2 separate regions of the Homo sapiens genome follow, and region 2 is linked to region 1. Evidence: promoter capture Hi-C in 16 types of primary human blood cells and fetal thymus (Javierre and others, 2016). All regions are on one chromosome and are shown on one strand. The core of a region is centred on a gene start or on the middle of the fragment in contact, and the rest is flanking DNA. Distances in the headings are between cores, read along the strand shown. Region 1 holds the start of FBXO21 (F-box protein 21). Region 2 overlaps MED13L (mediator complex subunit 13L).

Region 1 (3,514 bases), core at 323-2,822:
GAGGGGTTGCAAAAAAAATCCGTTGAACCCATTTGAGAAATAATGCTGATCTGGACTCCGTCTACATTGTGCTGCGTGGGTCCCTCCCTGCTCCCTCCACCCCCACTCTCTCTCTGGCTTTAGAAAAGTAAAGCTGGCACAGACAAATGGCTTCGTGTTGTTGGATAGGAGGAAAAGGACACAATGACTCTTGCAGCCATCTAAGTGAGTAAGGGATTGTGAGAGCATTGAAAAGGGAGATACGAAAAGAGCTGGATGAGCTCATGCCTGCAGACCCAGACACATACACCAGCAAGCCAAAGCTTAGAGCCACATCAACAGATCCTTACGTGCTCTGAAAAGAACCTCTTTGAGAACGAGGCTACAATCTTCCGCGCTTCTAACCCAGCTTTTTGCCGAACTTTATACTCTTCCAACCAATTGACGTAGTCGGTGGGGCTGTAGTGTTTCATAAGGGAAGGCCACCTACGAGGAGAGAAACACCCCCTCAGCTTAACAGAAACTCAAAGGCAGGCGGCCACGAATCCAAGGCAGCCTTGGAAACAGGGACAGCAGTGGCGTCCAGTGGTAAGAGGGACCCCGGCGAGAGACCTAGTTCAAAACCCCACCAGCATTCACTCACTCACTCCCGGTGTGACCTTGGCGTAGCGGCATGAATGATGTCTCCATTCCCCATCTCTAAAATGGGGACAGTTGTAACAACAACAACAATAATAATAATGACAATGACAGTGAGCACTGATTGAGCGCCTCCTAGGAGCCGGGGCCCTGCGTGCGTGCCTCCCGGACATCATCTAATTTAATAAACACGGTGAAAGGTAGGTCTAATGATCACCACCACTCAAAGTCTATGAACGAGGCTCAAAAAAAGGGAAGTCGCTCCCCCCAAGGTCACAGAGGGAGTGTGCAGGGCCAGATTTCATCCTGGGGCCACGCTGAAATCTGTGCCGTCCACAACCAGCCCGGGGATGCTGCGCCCGCCCGATCGATGCATCACTGGGTCCATGTAAACATTTCAGCCCGAAGTCGGGCACAAAAGAAGCGCGCAAAAGGGACGAGCCGCGCCGCCGCCAGCGTCACCCTTGACGGAGGACCCGGCTGCGAGGCGCTCCTAGATGCGCCATTTGGGGACCCGGGGGTCCGCCTGGCGTGGCCCCGCAGGGTCCGGGGCCTGGAGGCCTTTGTCTGTCTGTCCGCGGGAAGGGGTCCGGGGTGGGGTCCGCGCGCGGGGCGGCCGCGGGGAGCTAGCGGGGCGGCTGCCCGGCCCCGGGGGGCGCGGGGCGGTGGGCGCGCAGCCGGGGCGCGGGGCCGCTGGCTCACCTCACCCGGAACTGCTCCTTCCACACCTTCCCGCTGCTCTGGCACAGCTCGCGCAGCCGCCGGCAGGTGCTGGAGACACGGCCGATGTCGGCGGCCGTCAGCGAGCCGCAGCACAGGATGTACTCCAGCACCTCACCCGGCAGGTTGACGAGGCAGCTGAGGCCCGCTACCTCCGGCGCGGCCTCCTCCGCCAGCGCCGGCACCACCTCCATCGCGCTGTCGACTGCTGCCGCCGCCATCTTGTCCGCGTACCTGGGGCCGCCGCGCGCGCGCGTGCGAGAGTGCCCGGGCGCCCCGCCTGGCCCCGCCTACTGGTCTTGGGGGCGAGTCCTGAGATCGCTCCGCCCATCCGCGGGCCACACCTCCCCTGCATCGGCTGGGGGCTGCGCGGGTGGCAGCGCCGCAAAAGGGAGGACATAATTGGGCTCTGTGCTTGGAGCCGGCAGCGCAAGCCGCCTCTAGTCCGGGACAACAATAGTAGCACTGATTCTTTTAAACGTAATTAATGTTTAAAATTAACAAATAAAAATGGTATCTATTCTCACGCGTGCTGAGCGCTTTCTGTGCGCATTGGACCTTTCCGAATTACCCTGCGAACTTTCTCCCCATATTACAGATGGGGAAACAGGTTCGGAGAGTGAGAGGGCTTGCTCAGGATCCCTTGTCTTGGATTTTTTTTCCCCCTTTGGGAAGGAGTCTTGCTCTCACCCAGGCTGGAGGGCAGTGGCGCTATCTCGGCTCACTGCAACCTCTGCCTCCTGGGTTCAAGCGATTCTCCTGCCTCAGCCTCCCGTGCGGATGGGATTACAGGCGCGCGCCACCACCCAGGTTGGAGTGCAGTGGCCGTGATCTCGGCTCACTGCAACTTCCACCTCCCTGGTTCAAGCAATTATCCTGCGTCAGCCTCCCGAGTAGCTGGGATTACAGGCGCCCGCCACCACAGCCAGCTAATTTTTGTATTTTTAGTAGAGACAGGGTTTCACCATGTTGGTCAGGCTGGTCTCGAACTCCTGACCTCAAATGATCCACCCACCTCGGCCTCCCAAAGTGCTGGGATTACAGGCGTGAGCCACCGCGCCCAGCCCCTTGTCTTGGATTCTATTTCAGATCCACTTGACTTTTGCTTGTCAGTAATCTTAACCATATGATGTAATAATAACAATATTCTTGAGTGGGTGCTATGGGAAGCCCTCTATGATGGTGTAGGGGAGTAATAATAATCCTCAAATGTGTGCCCTGATTTTAGGCTAATAGAGGGCAGGCAGAGAGCTCTCCTGTACTGGTTTCTTAATTGTTTCCAGCTCAACAATCCTTCATATTTGGGGAGCATAGTCTGACCTCCCACAATAGGTACCACAGTTATACCTATTCTACAGAAAAGGCAAAGTTCTTCCAGGTGGCAGTCACTGGTTCAAAGTTACAGAGACAAAAGTGCTAAAGCCTGGATTTGAGTCTTCAAAGCGGGAGTTATCACTCAGGATTGGGAGGGTAGTCTCAGGATCTGCACATTAAAAAAAAAAAATCAGTTTAGTTCAGTGCCAAAGCCCTGTGTTGTGTGCCCTGGGGATACAGGGGTGAGAAAAATGGAGTCTTTGCTTCAAAACCTCAAAGTGCAATTACAGTTAGAAGGATCTGTTGTCAGTACATGGAGGGTCCAATGAAGTACTCCTGGCAACTTGGAAATCAAGATGCCCTGAGAGAGCTGAACTAGTAAAGTGACTCTCAATGGATGGCGTTGAGCCATCTGTGGCTCCCTATTTCCCGTAGAAATGAATGTGACATCCCAAACATTGTTGCAAAGCAACAAACTCCACCTCTTCTTACCTATCTGAAGTCTTTCTCTCTCACTAGCCATGCATACCCCAGCAAGGCTGGTCATCTCTTTCCTCCCATTTCTGGCCCTACATATACTATTCCTGCTGCCTGCAAGGCACTTCATGCAGTCCTCCCCTTCCAGTAGCTCCTCCTCTTCCTCCAGGGCTCAGCTTAACCTTTCCAAATGCTCTCCCTTCCCCCGCCCCAGCACCAGCACCAGATATGGCTCCTGCCCAGCATTTTGCAGTCTTGTAATTACTTAACTTACAACTATTCAACATGCATCTTTCCCACTAAATCTGAAGGGAGTTCAGTGCTAGGACTGTGTCTGAGTCACCTCTAGAAGCCTAGTTACTTGACCCATGCCCTGCACAGAGCA
Region 2 (3,741 bases), core at 434-2,933, 1.2 Mb before region 1:
TATAAAGGTTCAGTAAGATCAGAGGGCAGACTAGAACAAGTTAAAATTAACTTTCCAAGCAGCACTACATCATTTCCTTCAAGATAAGCATTATGATTCTGACTATGATGAAGTAGACAGAACTGGCCCAGAAGTCCATCCAGATGAAAATGCAGTGAGGATTGGGAAAATGAGGAGAATCTAAAAAATGCACTTTTTAGGGATTAGCTTCCTCACTGACCTGGATTATGCCAAGGGTGGTAGGAAACTTGACTCCAAAAGTAACTTTAGGAAAACAAAGAGATTATAAAACTAAATGGTCAAAGAAAAAGACTCCCCTATTTTGTTAGTGACGCAAGGACTTGACAGTAACTAACGCTGCTCTTCACTGAACAGCACTGAAGTCAGAAGGAATTTTAAACAGGACAAAGACCCTACCGTAGGTTCCCCGTCCTGCCATTTTATGGAACTGCTGCCAAGTGAGTGGTCCCTGCACATGCTGGATGTTCTCCCAGGTCCTGCCCGTGCGCTTCTTTTGGATGGCATCTTGGAGAAAGGGCTGCAGGGACAACAGCATACGAACCACATCCTGGGAGGAGAGCATGCTGATGTCCAGCACTGGAAGAGAAGTGAGAAGAAACAGAGAAGATAAGGGGGCTAGCACCCTCCTCTTCCTCACCATCACCTCGAGCCTCAGTTATATTCAGAACAATGACGTTATTAGCTGTAGTAGATTCTAAAATATTTGACTTAGGAGTCAGGAGGAAAGATATTCTTCTACTAAATTAGAGAAAATAATTGATAATTTAGTATCAACAATAATAAAAGGGGAAATGGATTACTCTATATAAAAAAGTTTAATGGAAGAATTGTTTAAAAGTGGAAAAATGGATAGGTGCGACTTTTTAAAACCATGGAAATCTGTTTCCAAGGATTTTCATAAGACAGCTGCAAAAGTTTCTTAATTATTACTTTTATTTGCAAATATCAATGTTTTGTTTATATGATAAGTAGGAAAAAATGGAACTTAAATAAAAGCTTTTAAAAACTCTTTAAATGCTCCTAATTGTAAAAATATTTTCACAAAATACAGAATGCATGAAGAGAAGGCCAATCTTCAGTGCAGCCAGAGGCACAGGGAAACACAGCTGAAGCCCTCAAGGACCGAAGTCCGCTGCAGGCACGGATGGGATTCACTGCCTTCTAAATGCAGATGACTTTAGTCCCAGCAGTCGCCCTGGGGAGGGATTTCTAACCTAAAATTTGAAAGTTGTCTGAACTCCATGCAAAACTGTGCAAGCACGCTTGGACATACGTATTTTTTTCTCAGGATGGAGGGTTCATCATGCAAATCAGATTCTTAAAAAGGTCTGCAGAAAGAGCTAATGACGCTGGAGGTGATGTGGTGTGAATCTGCACAGCTGGATTCCTGAAGACTCTGCCTCCCTCTTACCCTTCTAGCTGATGAGGGAAGGGGCATGGAAAGAAATCTAAGATTTATCTGCCAACTAAATTTGAAACACAGGATGATTAAGGATTCTTAAGACATTTTCAAACGTGTCCCTAAATCAGTAAAACACAGGTTGCAAAGTGGTGGTCCACAGAATATTTTGTTAAACTTTGGAACAAATCACTCCAGGAAATTTCACACACAAATCTAGATTGCCAGCTTCCCTTGAACTGGGAGACCCATATTCCTGCATAACCACCACTTGCTGGAGCTGAGGAGCAGCTGTCCCTCTCAGGCACCTCATGGCCCCTTCCCTGCTGTCTGTCCTGAGTCTGATGCAGTTTTCATTGCCTTTTATCTTCAGCCAGTGCTTCTTTTTACATATAGTAAACAACAACAGTGAATACTTCTTGTATTAATGGCTCTATCAAAAGCAGGAAATCACAGACCAAGAGAACCACAGATTTGAGGAAACTAAAAGCAAGCACGTTTCTTATGAACCCTATTCCTGTGCCTGCAAAATAGAAAGTGAGTTTTGAAAAGACAGCTTAAGGCACTGCCTTTTGCAAATGTCTCCCATCACATTCATTTACATTATCTGGTACTTTTAGGCATCTTAAAATTTGAAACCCAGACCTCCCCTGCAATAAAATGTCTTATTTTTCATCCTGAAAGACGACACCACTGATTCATGCACACAGACTGCTTTTCTGTCCGAAGGCCTATCTAGTAAAAGGACTCACCCAAGCTGATCATCCACATTTCTTTAGGGGAAAGGCTGCATTTTCTTCACTTCATAAATTCATTCAGTAGAAACTGATTAAGGGTCTGCTTAAGTATAAGGCACTGTGCTTGAACCTAAGCAGTTATACAAATGAGCATAACCCTTTAATGCTTTCTTAGTCATCTCTACCTCCATGAAAGCTTCCTTGATTGGCCTAGTCAGAAAATACCCATCACTCCCCATACTCTACTGACCTCTGGACATACTTTTAATTACTTCAGATTTCAAACTGTATTTAAGAAGCTTATATAACTTTCTTCCCTGCAAGACTGAGAGTTGTTCAGAAGCCGGGTTCGCACATCATTCACACAACCCTTCCAGTCTGGCCTCTGCTCCCACCACTCTACAGAAACAGCTCTCACCACGGTCAGAAGACATGTTTAATCCTTATCTTAAAATCTTCACTTGCATTTTAATGCCTGTCAATCACTTCCTCTTTCTTGAAACACTGGCTACCCCTGGCTTCCAAAAGCCCCCTCTATGGTTCTTCCTTCTCTGCTTGATAGGCTCACGCTTCTCTGCCTCACCTATACCCGTCAGAATGTAGCTAAGCTCTACCAGGTCCTCTTCTCGTCTATACTTTTCTCCTCCTCCTCAATGAGCTCATCTGTGCCCCCTTAATTGAAGTTATCACCTATATGCCAACCACTCCCTCTCCCCTGAGCAAAAGGCCCAAGAGTCTACTTGATACCTCTACCTGGATATATCAAAAGGGATCTTTAAAACTTCCAAACTTCCACAACTCAATTTATAAACTTTCTCTCCAGATATAGTCTTATCTTTGAACACCACTGACTATCCAGGTATACAAGTAACAAATCTGGGACTCCTCAACATCTCTCTTTCCCTTATCCCCAAAACTCAACTCACTATTGAGTCCTGCAATAATATTTCTTCTCCACCTTCTTCACAAGGACACTAAGGCAAGCTATTGTTTCTTACTAGGTCTTCCTCACTAACCTCCTTGTCTCCCCAAATCCATTCCTGCCACTTTCTAATCCATACCCAGAATTATAGCCAGTGCACATTGTTATTTTTCCTTTTTAACTACACAAATCTGACATCAGTGCTTCTTCTTAAAACCTTTCAATGACTTTGTATTGCTTTTTGCAGGAAGACCCAACCCCTAGCATGCCTCTAAAGAGTCACTGTAATCTAGCCCCTGCATGCTTCTAACCTCGCGTCAGTTTCTAAAGGCCCCAAGCTCCATACAACCAAGGGCCTTCCCACTTGCAGCACCTCCTGTCTGGGACACATGCCTCGCTCCCCATTCTCCTTCCTCAGTTAATGTGTACTCATCATTGAGATCTCTGAGCAAATGTTACTACTTCTACAACGAAGTCTTCTCTGACCTTCAGCCTAGAGTGCCCCGTCTATCCCATGCTTTTATCACTTATAAAATGGGTTGTAATAATATGCGTGCTTGTGTAATTATTTAATTGATGTCCACTTCCAGAATAGATTAGAAAGTCCATGAGGGTAAGTGCCTTGTTTCTTTCAGTAACCATTTTATCCCCCATGATGCATT

Evidence for each region. The method cuts DNA at HindIII sites, captures the fragments that hold promoters and counts their contacts. A CHiCAGO score of 5 or more calls a contact.
Region 2: a contact is called between a fragment that was not itself captured here and the fragment with the promoter of FBXO21 in region 1, in 4 of 17 cell types (total B cells, fetal thymus, naive B cells and 1 more). The highest score is 7.2, in total B cells.

The regions. Positions count from the first base shown.
Region 1 is chr12:117,188,898-117,192,411 of GRCh38, forward strand. FBXO21 (F-box protein 21) reads right to left here and starts at 1,573. Exons shown (of 12, transcript NM_015002.3): 1 at 1,321-1,573; 2 at 330-465. The coding sequence starts at 1,559. RefSeq lists an enhancer at 700-789 and silencers at 1,260-1,309, 1,590-1,689, 1,730-1,789. The HindIII fragment of the contact is 6,345 bases long and covers 301-3,514 here.
Region 2 is chr12:115,986,692-115,990,432 of GRCh38, forward strand. MED13L (mediator complex subunit 13L) reads right to left here. Exons shown (of 31, transcript NM_015335.5): 18 at 418-597. Among named protein-coding and RNA genes, the nearest start is that of LINC02463, 100 kb to the left of the region's middle. The HindIII fragment of the contact is 1,336 bases long and covers 1,016-2,351 here.